2 separate regions of the Homo sapiens genome follow, and region 2 is linked to region 1. The links are contacts of gene promoters, found by promoter capture Hi-C in blood cells and fetal thymus (Javierre and others, 2016). All regions are on one chromosome and are shown on one strand. The core of a region is centred on a gene start or on the middle of the fragment in contact, and the rest is flanking DNA. Distances in the headings are between cores, read along the strand shown. Region 1 holds the start of PRRG4 (proline rich and Gla domain 4). Region 2 overlaps TCP11L1 (t-complex 11 like 1).

The links. The method cuts DNA at HindIII sites, captures the fragments that hold promoters and counts their contacts. A CHiCAGO score of 5 or more calls a contact.
Region 2: a contact is called between a fragment that was not itself captured here and the fragment with the promoter of PRRG4 in region 1, in 1 of 17 cell types (M0 macrophages). The highest score is 5.1, in M0 macrophages.

What each region holds. Positions count from the first base shown.
Region 1 is chr11:32,828,591-32,832,463 of GRCh38, forward strand. PRRG4 (proline rich and Gla domain 4) reads left to right here and starts at 1,337. Exons shown (of 6, transcript NM_024081.6): 1 at 1,337-1,583; 2 at 1,918-2,042. The coding sequence starts at 1,940. It also overlaps a transcript of CCDC73 not described here. RefSeq lists a silencer at 1,114-1,493 and enhancers at 1,914-1,963, 1,974-2,033. The HindIII fragment of the contact is 6,622 bases long and covers 267-3,873 here.
Region 2 is chr11:33,067,468-33,071,135 of GRCh38, forward strand. It overlaps TCP11L1 (t-complex 11 like 1), which reads left to right. Exons shown (of 10, transcript NM_018393.4): 9 at 1,220-1,392. Among named protein-coding and RNA genes, the nearest start is that of LINC00294, 6.8 kb to the right of the region's middle. RefSeq lists an enhancer at 784-1,285. The HindIII fragment of the contact is 8,642 bases long and covers 1-3,668 here.

The DNA.
Region 1 (3,873 bases), core at 87-2,586:
TAAATAGTGTTTCAAAGAACTGTTAAGCACGTTCTTTGGATAAAGAAGGATGTGACCATCACCTGGCATAGGTACTCTGTCCACCTGCTGCCTTCATTACTTGATGCAGCAGTTTTTGAAGTCTTTAATCAAGACCTTTTTACGCTCTTTTACATTATCAAGGACCCCAAAGAGCTTTCACTTATGTGAATTTTATCTAATGATATTTATTATCTAACATTAAAACTGAGAAATTTTCAAAATATTATTTGAAATCAAGACAACAAAGCTTACTTTTTGTTATGTTTATGCATAGACTCAAGGAAAAGATCAAGATTTCAAGATAATTACTTCAGAAAAATGAGGTTATAGCTATCCTAGTAGATATGAACAAATAGAACTAATCAAAGTACAAAAGCAGTAGCCAAGAGAGTTGGTGGACACCTGTAGTCCCAGCTACTCTGGAGGATGAGACAGGAGGATCTCTTGAGCCCAGGAGTTCCTGGGCAACAAAGTGAGACCCCCTACTCTGAAAAAGAAAAAAGGAAAGAAAAAAAATTAAGTTCACAAGTACTGAGAACAAATTTTATTAATCTCTATAAATCTACATAAATCTCTATAAAATGTACATACTGATAATGTAAACATACTACTATGGAAAATACCAGAAAATACAAGCACGCTCACTCAGGTATTCTATTAGGAGACAGAATGATGACGTTATTACACTTCAAATAGCCCCTGGAAATTTCCACTGTACACTCTTGAGAGAATGAAAGTGAAAATGGCAAATCATTTATTGTTACTATAATGGAAATAGTTTTGCCCTCAGAGACCCCTGGAAAAGATCTTGGAGACATCCCAGACCTGGCGGACCACCATTGGAGAACCAATGTAATCAATTACTTGTAAGGTCATTTCCATTTCTTATCACGAATAAAGGGTATTTTGTCTGATGAATATCTTGTCCTCGTCCCCGGACCACCCTTTTGAGAACAGTTGACCTAAGGTAACCACAGGACTCCTGGCCCAGTGGGACCCAAAGCGAAAAGCCCTGGACGCGCCGAGGGCGCTCTGCTTAAGACTGAGAACCGAAATGCTTCCTGAATTAGGATCATTGAGAACGCCGAGTGCAGACACAAATCGAAAAGCAGCCACCCGCGCCGCCAAGGCGGGGCCAGAACTGGCGGCAGGCGGCTGGCCCGCCCGGGGATGGGGCAGAAGCTGGGGCGGCTGAGAGCGCAGCGCGGGCTCCCGGGAGACGCCGGCCCACTGCCCGCCCGCTCGCCGCAGGTAGGCCCGGCCCCCGGGAGGTGGGGCGCGGCCAGGTGTCCCCAGGTAGCCGCCTCCTCCCGTCCTCCGTCGGCCGCCTCCCCGGACCGAGGCAGGACCTCACCCCGCGCGTGTTCCCCGGGCGCCCCTCTGCGAACCCCAGGCCCTTCCCAGGTTTGCGCGCGGGGGCCATCCAGACCCTGCGGAGAGCGAGGCCCGGAGCGTCGCCGAGGTTTGAGGGCGCCGGAGACCGAGGGCCTGGCGGCCGAAGGAACCGCCCCAAGAAGAGCCTCTGGCCCGGGGGCTGCTGGAACATGTGCGGGGGGACACAGGTACGAGGCCTGGCGGCAGGACCTCGGCGGGGAGGGGGTTACCTGGAAGGGGCCACCTCGGCGGACTGGGTTGGATTCGAACACATAGCGAGGGTTGCCCGCGGCGACAGGTGCCCGATCAGCCCTCGGCAGGGTCACTGGGCACGGCGTTTGTCCCAGGCGCTCTCAGGGGCTGCTTCCTGGGCGCGCGTCGGGTTCCGGCGACCGAAACCGCGCGCCGGGCGCTCTTGCGCCTAGGCTTTGAGTACAACAGGTTGGTGATTCAGTTCGACAGAAACTCAAAGTGCTGAGCTAGGGGCCTTTTTTTTTTAATATTTTTTTTTGTTTGTTTTAGTTTGTTTGACAGTTGCCAGACTATGTTTACGCTTCTGGTTCTACTCAGCCAACTGCCCACAGTTACCCTGGGGTTTCCTCATTGCGCAAGAGGTCCAAAGGCTTCTAAGCATGCGGGAGAAGAAGGTAAGCACTAAAACGTCCCTGGAACCCAGAGCCGCATAGCACAGATCTCAGTGAGAAAGTGCAGTATTTGAAATTACATACCCCCAGCAATCATAGAAACACTAAAATATCCTTTAGTTTAATTTGTGGCATATTTGGCAAGGTTGTGTTTTTTTATGTTCTTTAACTGCAATTTATAGAATTTGATGTCTGTGAGTCTCCTTTAATAAGTATATACGTAAGACCTAGTTTGTGGTTAATTGAATGGAAAACCTATTTCAGCTTCTGAAAATCAGTGAGTGACATTTCTCTAGATGAAGCTGTGTGGCGATTATAATAAGCATAATTACTTGTTCTTCCTGGAGAGGCGAACGGGGAGTCCAGGATCTAGTCTGGACTTGCGAGACCCTGGGCGAGATAACTTAATCCCGTTTGGCTTGAATGTCTTCATCTGTAAAAGTGATGCGGGTGGGGCGTAAAATGATCTCTGAGGTCCTTTTTGACTTCAGATGGTCTAGTTGTCTAGATAAAAGCAGCTAGTTGAGAAAAGATTAGGTTTGGGGCTTGCTAACCTGGAAGTCCACAGTTTTTAGGTTTCAGATCATTAACAGTTTGTTTCCTGCCTATATCTTAAAAGCCTAACCTAGTAAAACCAGAAGAAAAAAAAAGCCTCTGTCTCTCAGCATCCTTCTCCCTGACTATTCATGGTGCTTCCCCACTCAGTGTCAGTACTCTGGATCCACGTCCCCACACATTCCTGTCTCTTATCCCTTCTCATCAGATCCGATTCTCAGCTCATTTTCATTTGGGAAGGATCTGTTACACTAGTACTCCTAACTGACTTTATTAATGATTAATACAGCTGTGTTTGTGTGTGTTGAGCTAGAACAATCCATTAACCCAAAGGCGTGAAACTCTGATGACAGAATTCTAGCAACTGGATAGGCTAGCTAGAGAGAGAGGGAGAGATTTTGGAAGAGGATCCTTTTTAGTCCCTCTCAAGCTGCACCATATATGTAAGTCCACTTAGAAGGTTGCACTTATAAGGTTCCATAATCAGATGCTCTTCCCTAAAATGATTGTGAGTGCAATCATTCATTCACATGACACGGGTATAAGAGACACTCTCGCCGGCACGGTGGCTCACACCTGTAATCCTAGCACTTTGGGAGGCCGAGGCAGGTGGATCACCTGCGGTCAGGAGTTCGAGACCAGCCTGGCCAACATGGTGAAACCCCGTCTCTACTAAATATACAAAAATTAGCCTGGCTTGGTGGCACGTGCCTATAATCCCAGCTACCCGGGAGGCAGAGGCTGCAGTGAGCTGAGATCGTGCCACTGCACTCCAGCCTGGGCGACAGAGTGAGACTCCATCTCAAAAAATAAAAATAAAAGCAAATAAATAAATAAATAAATAAAAGACAGTCTCAAGGACACCACAAGCTATGGAAGGAATTTAGAGATCATACTTGAGTGTGGAGGGCTGGAGATGTCTGTGGAAATGTGAATGAGGGATCCGACACATTTGAAAAGACAACTTGTTCAGTCAGTCACCACTTGATGAACACATGCTAAGTGCCAGGCCCCGTGCTGTGTGGTGGAGACATAGAAATGAAAGACTGCAATCTCTGCCCTGGAGGACATCTTCATCTGTGTGGGAGGCAGGGTGTTTGTTAAACAGACGATCTCCATCAACTGTATAACAGAAGCCAGAACACAGAACTGAGAGCAGAGGAAAGAGTGAGTAGCAGTAACTCTGCCTCAAGAGAGTTGTATGGCAGAGAAGCCAATGCCTTCCATCTGCAAATGGGCTATAATAAATGGAGATATGAAAAGTAACTGGAAATAAAGG
Region 2 (3,668 bases), core at 294-2,793, 240 kb after region 1:
ACTAGTTTGCTGAGAGGCCAGGAAACTTGTTTGCTCAGCTGAGGGCCTAGCCTGAGGCCTTTGCACAGGTACAGCTCTGGGCTGTCACCTAGGTCCCCTGCCTGGAGAACTACTCTGTCAAAGCTCCCGCTGAGGGTGGGATCCAGGTCAGTGCTTTCTTGGGAGCCCAGCCTTGCACTCCCATATCCTCCCTGGTCCTCCAGGGGTGGGCACAGAGCTGGTGCCAATGGTGAGTGCCAGGGCTTGCTCCCATGCCCCCCAGTAATTCTACATACAAAGGATCTAGACCCACAACAGAGGCAGTTACCTTCTCACAGCATGCCTGCCAGCATGGGGGCTCCCCACAGGCACCCTGGGAGAGCCTGGGGGACCCAGGGTATCCAGGTACTCTTTTTTTTTAACTTTAGGATTTCACTTTTCGTTATTCTTTTATTTTTTAAAAATTTTTTAATTTTTATATATTTTTTTATTTTTTTGTGATGGAGTTTCACTCTTGTTGCCCAGGCTGGAGTGCAATGACGTGATCTCGGCGTCCACTTCCTGGATTCAAGTGATTCTCCTACCACAGTCTCCTGAGTAGCTGGGATTACAGGCACCTATCACCATGCCCAGCTAATCTTTTTGTATTTTTAGTAGAGATGGGGTTTCACCATGTTGGCCAGGCTGGTCTTGAACTCCTGACCTAGAACTCCTGATCCATCTGCCTTGGCCTCCCAAAGTTCTGGGATTATAGGCGTGAGCCACTGAGCCCGGCCTCTTTATTCTTTTAAAATTAGTTAATACATGTGTATGTTTCAAAAATCAAAAGGTACAAAAGGGCATCCAATGAAGAGTTTCTCTCTCCCTCTTGTCCCACAGCTACCAAATGCCTGCTTTCTTGTGTATTCCTCCAGAGGTATATCAAGATATTCTGAGGTCATTCCAGGCTGATTTTATCACACAGAGGCTAGCAGGAAGTTGTGCTTTGGGTCGTTGGTCCTGGTATACTCTGAGCCCCTGCCCTTCCCACTGTCCTTTCTAGCAGAGGGAGAGAAAGAAAGTCCCCCTGGTCAGGTATGCACAGCCTGAGAGGTAAGGTGGCAGGGAAAAGAGTCTCAAATTGTCCCTTGAACACACAAATCCAGTTATTGGTGCCGTCATTCTCACCCGGGTGTGGGCGGTTGGAGCTGGTTAGAGGTGTATTTTACTTATAGGCCCTTTCTCCCCTCCTCTGCCCCAGCTCCTTCCATCTGAAGGACGTCCTCACTACCATCGGGGAGAAGGTGTGCCTGGAGGTGAGCAGCTGCCTCTCCCTGTGTGGGTCCTCTCCCTTCACCACGGACAAGGAGACCGTGCTCAAGGGCCAGATCCAGGCCGTGGCCAGTCCCGATGACCCCATTCGCAGGATCATGGGTACGTTTGGGGAAGGCAGGCAGCAGGGATGTGCCCTCTGAGGGGCTGGAGCACGAGTCCATCTGAAGAAACCTGAGGGCTCAGCTGGAGTTAAGGTGCTGATGGGTGAGGAGATGGTGTAATGAAGCACCACAGAGAGACCAGGGCCACCCAACAGATGGGCACAGGACCAGGCAGCCATCATTGTTCTAAGGGCTGCAACCTTGGAATCACTCTCCTGGGTTCACAAGCAGTGTCCCAGGGCAGCTTGGGCGTGTAACTTGACACTCGAGTTTCCTCATCTCTAAAGCAGGAATAAGGGCAGCAACCTTACAAGGTCGCTGCAGGAACTCCCTGGGATGAGAAGGTGAAGCGCTTTCCGTAGTGCCTGGCAGCACATAGTAAGTGCTCAGTAAATAGGAGCTGTTACGAAAAGAGCTGAATAGTAAAATGAAGATGTTATTTAAAAATACTATTAAAATATTATTAAATATTAGTATGTAATACTATTAACATATCAAATATAATAACTTAAAATGGTAATATTAAGATATTGCTATTTAAAATTTATAATAAACTTGAAGTATTAAAATATTTTAATGCATATTCTATAAAATATTTAAAATATTCTATAATATTAGCTATTAGTTATCACAGCAATGGCTTTATGAAAAATTCTGTTAATTAGCTCGACTTAATCATTTTGTAGTATATACATACATTTAAAACATCATGCTGTATGCTGTGAATACATAGTTTTGTTTGTTTGTTTTTGAGACAGGGTCTCACTCTGTCTTCCAGACTGGAGTGCAGTGATGCGATCTCGGCTCACTGCACTCCACCTCTGTGCTCCACCTCCCAGGCTCAAGCAGTCCTCCCACTTCAGACTCCCAAGTAGCTGGGACTACAGGCATGCACCACCACACCCAGCTAATTTTTTGTATATCTTCTAAAGATGGGGTTTTGCCTTGTTGGCCAGGCTGGTCTCAAATTCCTGGACTCAAGTGATCCGCCTGCCTCAGCCTCCCAAAGTGCTGGGGTTAACAGGCACGAACCACTGCATCCAGCCAAGATTTATACTCACAACCTTCATAGGGAGGCAGGAAAGTGCCTGTAAGTAGACCTGTGGCCAGCAAGTTGCTACTCATCCTGCTGCCTGGGTTGTTTTGTAATAGCCAGTTACCGACAGATTGAAAACCAGCCCTTAAGGGGAGGATCACTTAAAACCAGGAGTTCGAGACTATCTGGGCAGCATAGTGAGACCCCATCTCTACAAAAAATTAAAAAAAAAAAATTAGCCAGGTTAGTGACATGCATCTGTAGTCCTTGCTACTCGGGAGGCTGAGGCAGGAGGATCACTTGAGCCCAGGAGTTTGAGGCTGCAGTGAGCTACAATTTCACCACTGCACTCCAGCCTGGGTGACAGAGCAAGACCCTGTTTCTAAAAGAAAGAAAGAAAGAAAAGAAAAACCAGTCTTTGGGTAGGAACAATACAAAGATTTCTACTTCAGTGAGGCTGCCAGCCCTGGGAACCTTAGAGAACCAAACTAACTTAAGAATAAGGGTGCTGAGCACAGTGGCTCATGCCTATAATCCCAACATTTTGGGAGGCCGAGCCGGGCAGTTCACCTGAGATTGGAAGTTCGAGACCAGGCTGACCAACATGTAGAAACTCCGCCTTTACTAAAAATGCGAAATTAGCCAGGCATGGTGGTGCATGCCTGTGATGCTAGCTACTTGAGAGGCTGAGGCAGGATAATCGCTTGAACCTGAAAGGTGGAGATTGTGGTGAGCCGAGATTGTGCCATTGCACTCCAGCCTGGGCAATAAGAGCTAAAGTCTGTCTCAAAAAAAAAAAAAAAAAAAAGAATAAGGGTGATAGGGCCAGGTGTGATGACTCATGCCTGTAATCCCAGCATTTGGGAGGCCAAGGTGGGCAGATTACCTGAGGTCAGGAGTTTGAGACCAGCCTGGCCAACATGGTGAAACCCCGTCTCTACAAAAAATACAAAAATTTCCTGGGCATGGTGGCGTGTGCCTGTAATCCCAGGTACTCGGAAGGCTGAGGCAGGAGAGTCACTTGAACCCAGGAGGCGGGGGTTGCAGTGAGCCGAGATCGCGCCACTGCACTCCAGCCTGGGAGACGAGGGAAACTCCATCTCAAAAAAGAAAAAAAAAAGAAGAAGGGTGATAGGGCTGGGTGCAGTGGCTCACTCCTGTAGTTCCAGCACTTTGGGAGGCGGGGGCAGACGGATCACTTGAGGTCAGGAATTCAAGACCAGCCCGGGCAACATGGT